Linked DNA regions of Homo sapiens: region 2 is linked to region 1. The links are contacts of gene promoters, found by promoter capture Hi-C in blood cells and fetal thymus (Javierre and others, 2016). All regions are on one chromosome and are shown on one strand. Each heading gives the region's core, a stretch centred on a gene start or on the middle of the fragment in contact. The rest is flanking DNA. Distances are from core to core; before and after follow the strand shown.

The links. The method cuts DNA at HindIII sites, captures the fragments that hold promoters and counts their contacts. A CHiCAGO score of 5 or more calls a contact.
Region 2: a contact is called between a fragment that was not itself captured here and the fragment with the promoter of AP2M1 in region 1, in 8 of 17 cell types (M2 macrophages, endothelial precursors, M0 macrophages and 5 more). The highest score is 12.2, in M2 macrophages.

The regions. Positions count from the first base shown.
Region 1 is chr3:184,172,304-184,176,946 of GRCh38, forward strand. AP2M1 (adaptor related protein complex 2 subunit mu 1) reads left to right here and starts at 2,552. Exons shown (of 12, transcript NM_004068.4): 1 at 2,552-2,656. It overlaps DVL3 (dishevelled segment polarity protein 3), which reads left to right. Exons shown (of 15, transcript NM_004423.4): 15 at 1-1,311. RefSeq lists enhancers at 2,600-2,669, 4,202-4,643 and a silencer at 2,880-2,929. The HindIII fragment of the contact is 5,273 bases long and covers 2,033-4,643 here.
Region 2 is chr3:183,898,014-183,902,656 of GRCh38, forward strand. It overlaps the pseudogene CYP2AB1P. Among named protein-coding and RNA genes, the nearest start is that of MIR4448, 14 kb to the left of the region's middle. The HindIII fragment of the contact is 4,315 bases long and covers 317-4,631 here.

The DNA of each region.
Region 1 (4,643 bases), core at 1,302-3,801:
CCTCTGCTATAAATTCTCCTGGCTCTCCTGGGCTTCCATATTTTGGGGGCTGGGGTGTCAAAAGTGAGATGAAGTTCTTAGCTCCAGGTTTTGGGGTAAACCAAGGTAGGAACATTTTGGCATTTATTTCAATTAACAATACTTCCTTGGACGGGTGCGGTGGCTCACGTCTGTAATCCCAGCACTTTGGGAGGCTGAGACAGGTGGATCACTTGAGGTCGGGAGTTCGAGACCAGCCTGGCCAACATAGCAAAACCCTGTCTCTACTAAAAATACAAAAATTAGATGGGTGTTTTGGCACCTGCCTGTAATCTCAGCTACTCAGGAGGCTGAGGCACAAGAATCGCTTGAATCCAGGAAGCAAGCGGAGGTTGCAGTGAGTTGAGATCGCACTCCAGCCTGGGTGACAGAGTGAGATTCTGTCTCAAAAGCAAACTAACAAAGAAAAACAATACTTCCTGGGGTTTTGGTGTGCAGAGGGCTTTGTTGGAAGTGTGACTCAATCTTGCCTGCCTTCTGGGAGCTCTAGAATTGTTCCCAACCCAGTCCATGGCTTCTAGCCACCACTACAGGGCTGTTTCATGTACTTCTCTCTCTGACTCTGTCTTGTCCGACTCTCTTGAGAATTTCTCAACGATTGCTCATGCCTGTCAGTATCAGTGCTTCCATCGTTCCATCTTTGATTCACTTCTCTTTCCTTTCTATTTACTCCCAAAATGGAGTCATTCATCCTGATGTCCTCAATTGCTGCTGATATGCTGGTGATTCCCAAATACATAGCTCCAACCCCCAACTTCCCCCAGACTTTAGATCTGTATTGGTATTACCTACTGGACATCTCTATGGACAGTTCCGTATAGACTCAACTCATCTGCCCAACCAAGTATGTTCCTCCTGAATTCCTCTCCTGGTTACTTCATCACAATCTACATAGGCTCACCAGCTAGAAACATTTATGAGCTTACATTCCTTCTTCCCATATCTTATCAGCATATCATATCCATTTCACTCCAACACTCTGTCTTGAATTTGGCCCTCCCTCTCCCCTCTCTACTTTAATTCATTGGAGCATGGGATTTGGAGTTAGGTGGTTTTGGGTTTGAATTCCAGCTCTACTATTTTTGGTTGTGTGATAGAGTTATTTAACCTCTCTGAGCCTCAGTTCCCTCGTATGTAAAATGATGATAATAATACCTACCTCACAGGGTTGTTGTGAGGATTTAAATTAGATATTGTACGAAAAGTGCCTAGCACAGTGCCTGGCACACAGTAGAGTAGGTGCTCAATAAATGGTAGCTATTATTATTATTATTTTATCATTATTATTATTTACTCTAAATTGGTAGCAGTTTAGGGTATTTTTGGAAGATAAAGCTTTTGCAAAGGTAGAAGTGAAGCCTTGAGTGCTGGTTCAAAAATTAGAAGTGCCTGTATTCAGTCACTTAATGACTTCAGGCCGTGACTATGATGTGAGAGAGGTCAGATCTTCATCCTGCCACATCGTGGCTTCTGGCTGGAGGCTGGGAAGGACTGTAACATTTGCAACCAGATCTGTCCTTTCTTGCCCTTCCTTCCTCCCATGACAGGCGTAGTCCTGCCCAAGGAAGGCAGCAGTTTATCTCTGCCTACAGAAAGAGAAGAGCCAACAGATTTTCTTAAGACTCTGCAAGAACCAAGCAGGCCTTTCATGTGTGAGGGTTGGGTCTGTCTCCTCAGCTTGGATGTAAAGATTCTGTTTATCAAAGAGGGGATTTCAAATCCCATGTCAAACTAAATTCAACTCTTCGAACGTCTTCTAAGCAACATATATGCCTGTCACTAGAAGGCATACACAGTCGCATAGGTATAGCTAAGGAGAACATCGGCTCGTTCATGAAAAGCTGTAGCTGACCTCCGGGAAGAGTGTACAGTCATGGACTTATTTGTGAAAAGGTTTAGTTTCTTCCAAGTAGTCGCCTCCTTCCTCCCCGCTCCTCTCCTTGGGTCTTGATCCCTTGGAAAAAGCTCATGTCCGGAACAAATATATGAGAAAAGCTTGAGAGAATCAGAGGTAGTGTTAGAAAGCAGTAAATTCAGCACAAACACTTCTACTGCCCAGTTGTATTTATTTGTGTGTAAAGTGAGGACAGCCAGTCCTGGGACTCTGGAGACAGAAAAGGCCTACAGCAATCCAAGGCTTAACAGATGTGCTTCCACAAATGGCATTAATATCCCAAAGCTCTCCAGAACACAAATAGGAACAGGAGGAAGTGCAGGGACTACAATTCCCAGAGCGCTCAGTGAAAAAAAAAAAAAAAAAAAAAAAAAAAAAAAAAATGAGGCGGGTGGAGCGGTGTATGCTGGAATGTGTATTTCTGGTAGGGCCGACTAAGGCCACGCCTACCCCTTCCTGAGGCGGGGGCGGTTTCTCGAAGGCAGTCGGTAGTTGTAGTTTTGCTAAACCTAGAGCGCTTCAAATTGCAAGCAAGGAGGCCGCGAGGCCTGACGGGATTTGTAGTCGGCGCTAGACGCCGGCGCGCACGCGCAGCCGGGGCCGGGGCGGGGCGGCGGCACTGCGGTGAAAGCCGAGGCAGCGGGCAGACGAGCAGGGGGCGGGCGGACATCTTGGGATCCGGAGAGTGGCCGGGCCGGCAGAGCAGGGGGCCGAGGACACCAGGTGAGCCGGGGATCTGGCCTTATGGCGTGGAGGAGGACGCTGCGGGTCGTCTGCCTCGCCGCGCAGCTTTGTCCTGCCCTGCACTGAGCTGGCGGAAAGCTGCCCACACCCGGGAGTGGCTTCAGCCTTCGGACCCGGGAGCTAGCTGACGGTGGGGCGGGGGCGCCCGGGGCGCGATTGCAGGGCTGGCGGGGAGCGGTGCCCTCCACCTGACCCGCCTGGCGCCTCCCATGAGAGGGATACCGCTTGGAATCCTCCCAGAGCAGGAACGCTGCGCAGCGCCCCCTCCCTAGGATCGTGCCAACCCCCTACCCCTCCGCGCAAGGACAATTTCCCCGTCTCGTAGGACAGTGACACCCCTTTGTGCCGCCGCCTTGCACCGTGACAGGTCTCACGCCATGCGGCACCCCCTCCTCTTAGTTCAGTGGCACCCCGCGGCTCTTCTTCCTTAGACCTGTGACAGCCCCCGCACCCCCATGGCACCATCTTTTCCCACAATGTCCTCCCCAAGGCGAAAAGCCTACCACCCTCTCATTACTCTGCACCTGAACCCCAAGCAGGCTCTGTCTCCCCAGCTTTCCCTTATTCACCACTGTCAGTTCCCCCGGCCGGTTTTTCCTTCTTAAAGCCTTGACCTTTTCCATACTGGAAACCCTTACCTTTACGTTCACTCCACCAGCCCAGTTTGCTGCTGTGGGCTCACCTGAGGACGCTGCCTGGCTTTCACTGAAGGTCTTTCCCCTTAACTAAATGTTCCATTCTTGCCCAAGGCCCCCCTCTGGTTCTCGGGTGCCCTTCGCTACCTACCACTCGATACCTGTGGACTTGGTGCTTTGCCCCAGGCTCTACCTCCATTTTGCATCTCCTCTCCCAGCCTGTTTGGGACTGAGGGATGGGATGAGTCCACCACCTTGAGAGACCGCTCACCCCTCTGGAAGACCTTGACAGCCACAGGAAAAGGCTTTATTTTCCAGTTTAGAAAAGTCCTCTAAAGTACTCCCTGTGAAATTAATACCAGGGCTAATCCAGGAAATCTAAAACCAAATTAATGCCTTTTCTCAAACAGTCTAAATTAATTTGACCCAAATAATTTGGATAATTCAGGCATCCTGACATCCCTGCTTCTTGCTTATAGGCACCCAGGCCAGAAATGAGTTACTTCATGGGCCTGGAATCACGATTTCAGATGGAAGGATTTCTTAATTTTATGAGCCTGCGCCACCCCCACCCCCCAGTCCTTATTTTTATTGCATTCCAGAGCTTTTTGAAAGGGGGGTGGTAATCAGAAATAACTGTAATAAGCAGCTTGGGTGATGGAAGTGTAGTCTGCCAGCCCTAGGACCTTCCTCCTGTGCCCTTTGCCTGCTTATTCCACTGCCTGGAAGAGGTTAAGCCACACTCCCGGGTCCACATTAGGGCCTAAGGGCTCCCTTCTCTTCTCCTTATACCCTTTCCTGGAATGTTTGAATTCTGTGAATTAGAGTGCCGGAAGTTCAGGCCCTGCGACCTTCTCTGAAGGGTAGTGGAGCCCAAGAGACTGGATGCTCTAAAGGTTATGCCTGGGGGCCCCAGGCCTGAACCAACTGGAGTAATGCCTACCGCCATTCCTGCAGCCGCAGGCAGGCAGGCAAGCCTTAGTGAGTCACTGGCGGGAGCCCGAGAGTCTGCACAGGAGGGGGCCGAAAAGGATCATTCCTGAGCTCAGTGCTGGGGAGAGGGGGCGGGGGTTACTGATGCTCAGCCCCAGGAAAGGGAGGGTCAAAATGGCCTTAGAATCCTGGGCCTAATCTCTCTCTGTTTCTTTCTCCCATCTAGTGTGGAATAAACAGGAACTGGAGCCTGGCTGAGGGGAGGGGCATGTCTGGGAGGGCTGCAGGGTCACTTACTAAAGGGTTGAGTCAGGAAAGAAGCTCCAGTGACCTGCACAGCTCCACAGGGGATGTTGGCAGCGATTCTGAGGTCTTCTTTTACCCTGCCCCCGCCTGTC
Region 2 (4,643 bases), core at 1,224-3,723, 270 kb before region 1:
GCTCATGGAACAGGTTCAGAGCACAGCCTATCCAGTATGCAAAAAGGACAGCGCCCCGCCCCCCGCAACAACCGCCCTCCACTTCCCCAGACTGTAGAACCATCTACCTGCTGGGTACCTCCTGGGGTCGCTGTGCCAGCTTCTGCCCAGTAAATGGCAATTTGGAATTCGCAATCAAATAGAATGTCTGAGAAGAGAGACAGGCTGGAAGTGCAACCGTCGTATCAGGGACTATTGCTGTTGTCACGATCACTCAGCTGATGAAATGGTTAGGAACAGTTTAGGAATATCTGTAACATTTAATGATCTACTGTCAAGCTTTGATTCCACTTTCAGCAGACATCTCTCGTCCAAGTTGTAAAAGCTCAATATTGATTTCAGCTCGTTAATGGGCCCCTGGAGCCTTTATCACAGAACAAGTCCTAGAATCAAATTGGCAGGAATGAGCTCTTAATAAGGAAATTTCTAATCCCAAACGGCATAACACAGAGCAGTACCCTGGCCCCCTCTTTTTAACTTAAGTTGGCACAGCTTCTAGACAACCTGGGCCTGGGTCCTTCTGCCACGCCAGCAGCAAGATGACCTGATGCCCTGGTCCTATCCACTTTCCCAGAGACTCTTGACAAACCTGTAAACTTGCTGGCCAATTTCTGCCAAGGACAGAATGACAGTGTAAAACATCTCCATTGAACACATTGGTTCACTTACCTAGAGTGGCATTTTCGTATAAATACAAACAGCAGGGCATATGGTAGGAAAAGAAAACACTTTAGAGTCAGAGGGACATGCATTTGAAACTCAGCTAAGTCACTTACTAGCTGTGTTTGGGCAGTTTCTTAAGCTGCCTATGCTGAAGTTTCTCTATCTATGGAAAAGAAACAGCAACAAAGCGTCCGAAGGATAGGGCTTCTGTGAAGAAAAAAATCTGTGGAGGAAGGAACCTCAAGTCTGGGCAAATTAATAATAAGTTAATAATGGGGCTGGGCATGGCGGCTTATGCCTGTAATCCCAGCACTTTGAGAGGCAGAGGCAGGAGTTCAAGACCAGCCTGGCCAACCTGGTGAAACCCCGTCTTTACTACAAATTAAAAAAAAAATAAAAATAATAAAAATTAGCTGGACGTGGTGGCACGTGCCTGTAATACCAGCTACTTGGGAGGATGAGGTGGGAGAATTGCTTGAGCCCCGGAGGTGGAGGCTGCAGTGAGCTGAGATCACACCACTGTACTCCAGGGCAGTACTCGGGGCAGAGCCAAAGCTCCTTTCCGAGGAAAGTCTCAGGGCTCCCGCCACCACCTCTATGTACAGAGGCATCACCCTGCACCAGGGCACCAAGATGAGTCGCTCTGTTTCATTTTCATTAAAATGGCAACCTCACCACCTACACATGTTGGTATGTTACCTGTTGCGGGAAGTCAGGGACCCCGAACGGAGGGACTGGCTGAAGCCATGGCAGAAGAACCTGGATTGTGAAGATTTCACGGACATTTATTAGTTCCCCAAATTAATACTTTTATAATTTCTTATGCCTGTCTTTACTGCAATCTCTAAACATAAATTGTAAAGATTTCATGGACACTTATCACTTCCCCAGTCAATACCCTTGTGATTTCCTATGCCTGTCTTTACTTTAATCTCTTAATCCTGTCAGCTGAGGAGGATGTATGTTGCCTCAGAACCTTGTGATAATTGCATTAACTGCACAAATTGTAGAGCATGTCTGTTTAAATGATATGAAATCTGGGCACCTTGAAAAAAGAACAGGATAACAGCAATTGTTCAGGGAATACGAGAGATAACCTTAAACTCTGACCACCGATGAGCCGGGTGGAACAGAGCCATATTTCTCTTCTTTCAAAAGCAAATGGGAGAAATATCACTGAATTCTTTTTCTCAGCAAGGAAGATCCCTGGGAAAGAGAATACGCGCCTGGGGGTATAGGCCTATAAACGGCCCCCCTAGGTGTGCCTGTCTCTTATGGTCGAGGCTATAGGGGTGAAATAGACCCCAGTCTCCCATAGCACTCCCAGGCTTATTAGGAAGAGGAAATTCCCGCCTAATAAATTTTTGGTCAGACCAGTTGCTCTCAAAACCCTGTCTCCTGATAAGATGTTATCAATGACCATGGTGCCCGAAACTTCATTAGCAATTTTAATTTTGCCCCAGTCCTGTGGTCCTGTGATCTTGCCCTGCCTCCACTTGCCTTGTGATATTCCATTACCTTGTAAAGTACTTGATGTCTGTGACCCACACCTATTTGCACATTCCCTCCCCTTTTGAAAATCCCTAATAAAAACTTGCTGGTTTTTGCGGCTTGTGGGGCATCACGGAACCCACCGACACGTGATGTCTCCCCCAGACGCCCAGCTTTAAAATTTCTCTCTTTTGTACTCGTCCCTTTATTTCTCAAGCTGGCCGACGCTTAGGAAAAACAGAAAAGAACCTACGTGACTATCGGGACAGATTCCCCGATAGTTACCCCAGTTAGCCTTGACTCCCAGGATACACACCTTTGTGTAATCCCCTCCCCTTGAGGATAGGATGGATTTAGTAACTCACTTCTAACAAATAGAAAATGGGCCAGACGCAGTGGCTCATGCATGGAATCCCAGCACTCTGGAAGGCCAAGGTGGGAGGATCACTTGAGCCCAGGAATTTGAGACCAACCTAGGCAACATGGTGAAACCCCATCTCTACCAAAAATTTAAAAATTAGCCCATTGTGGTGGCACAATGTGGTGCCTGTAGTTCCAGCTACTCAGGCAGCTGAGGTGGGAGGATCACCCAAGCCTGGGAGGTTGAGGCTGCAGTGAGCTATTATTGTGTCCCTTCACTCCAACCCAGGCAACAGAGGGAGACACTGTCTCAAACCAACAACAACAACAACAACAAACCCAACAAATAGAATATGGCAAAAGCGGCCGGGTGCGGTGGCTCACACCCGTAATCCCAGCACCTTGGTAGGCTGAGGCAGGCCAATCACTCGAGGTCAGGAGTTCAAGACCAGCCTGGCCAACATGGTAAACTCCATCTCTACTAAAATATACAAAAATTAGCCAGGCATGGTGGCACATGCCTGTAATCACAGCTACTCGGGAGGCTGAGGCAGGAGAATTGCTTGAGCCCAGGAGGCAGAGGCTGCACTGAGCTGAGATTGCACCACTGCACTCCAGCCTGGGGTGACAGAGCGAGATTCTGTCTCAAAAAAAAAGAATATGGCAAAAGCAATGGGATATCACATCTAAGATTAGGTTACAAAAAGACCATTGCTTCTATTTTGGGTGCCCTCTTGCTTGCTCTCTCTGATGGGGTTCAGCTGCCATGTTTTGAGCTACCCTATGCAGAGGCCCATGTGTCAAGGAACTGAAGGTCTCCAGCCAACAGTTCATGAGCAACCGGGTCCTGAAGACCTCCATGTAAGTGAGCTTGAAGTGGAGCCTCCCCTAGGGGAGTCTTCAGGTGACACTGTAGCCCCAACAACAACTTGATGGTAACCTCATGAGAGACCTTGAGTCAGAGGCATCCAGCTGAGCCACACCCATTTTCCTAACCCTCAGAAACTGTGAAATGATAAATGCTGTTGTTCTAAGCCACTAAGTTTTGGGGTAATTTGTTACACAGTAAGATAGGTAAGTAATTCAACATCTGTCATCTAGGATCTGCAAGGCTCCGTCAACAATACAGAGCACCATTGTACCGAATGACACCGTGGGCACAAAGCCCTCAGCACACAGCAAGCCTGGGCAAAGAGCAGGTGTCCTCATGTTATTGTCCAGCTCACGTCAAAAATCTGCTCGGAAAGCTATCTCAAGCTGGATCACCAGAGAGCTATCATCTTCAACTATGCTCGAGACCAACCTGGGCAACATGGTGAAACTGCATCTCTGCAAAAAAACAAAGCAACAACAACAACAAAAACAACGAAAATTAGCCAGGCATGGGGGCTCATGCCTGTAGTCCTAGCTACTCGGGAGGGTGAGGTGGGAAGATCGATTGAGCTGGGAGATAGAGGCTGTGGTGAGCCGTGATCGTGCCAATGCACTCTAGCCTGGGTGACAGAGCAAGACTCTGTCTCAAAAATAAATAAATATTGGCCGGACGCGGTGGCTCATGCCTGTAATCCCAGCACTTTGGGAGGCTGAGGCAGGCAGATCACTTGAGGTCAGGAGTTCTAGACGAGCCTGGCCAACATGGTGAAACCCTATCTCTACTAAAAAATACAAAAATTAGCCGGGCATGGTGGCACACACCTGTCATCCCAGCTACTCGGGAGACTGAGGCAGAATAGCTTGAACCTGGGAGGCAGAGGCTGCAGTGAGCCAAGATTGAGCCACTGCACTCCAGCCTAGGTGACAGAGCAAGACTCCATCTCAAAAAAAAAAAAGAATAGAGGTTAAAAATAAATAATTATTTATATAAACTTCAACTGTGTTATTTTGGCTGACTGTAGGAATGAAAGGAATTTTATCTCTTAAAAGGAATTGAGATAAGAAGCAGCTGCCATCTTGAAGAATATTTCTGCATCTTTTAAAAACTCCTGCTTAAATCACTGCCACTACATGGTCCACTGGCCCACAAAAGAATATTGTGAATGATGATCCTTGTCATAACTTACAGGCATGTGATAAGCCAAAGCTTTCCTGAT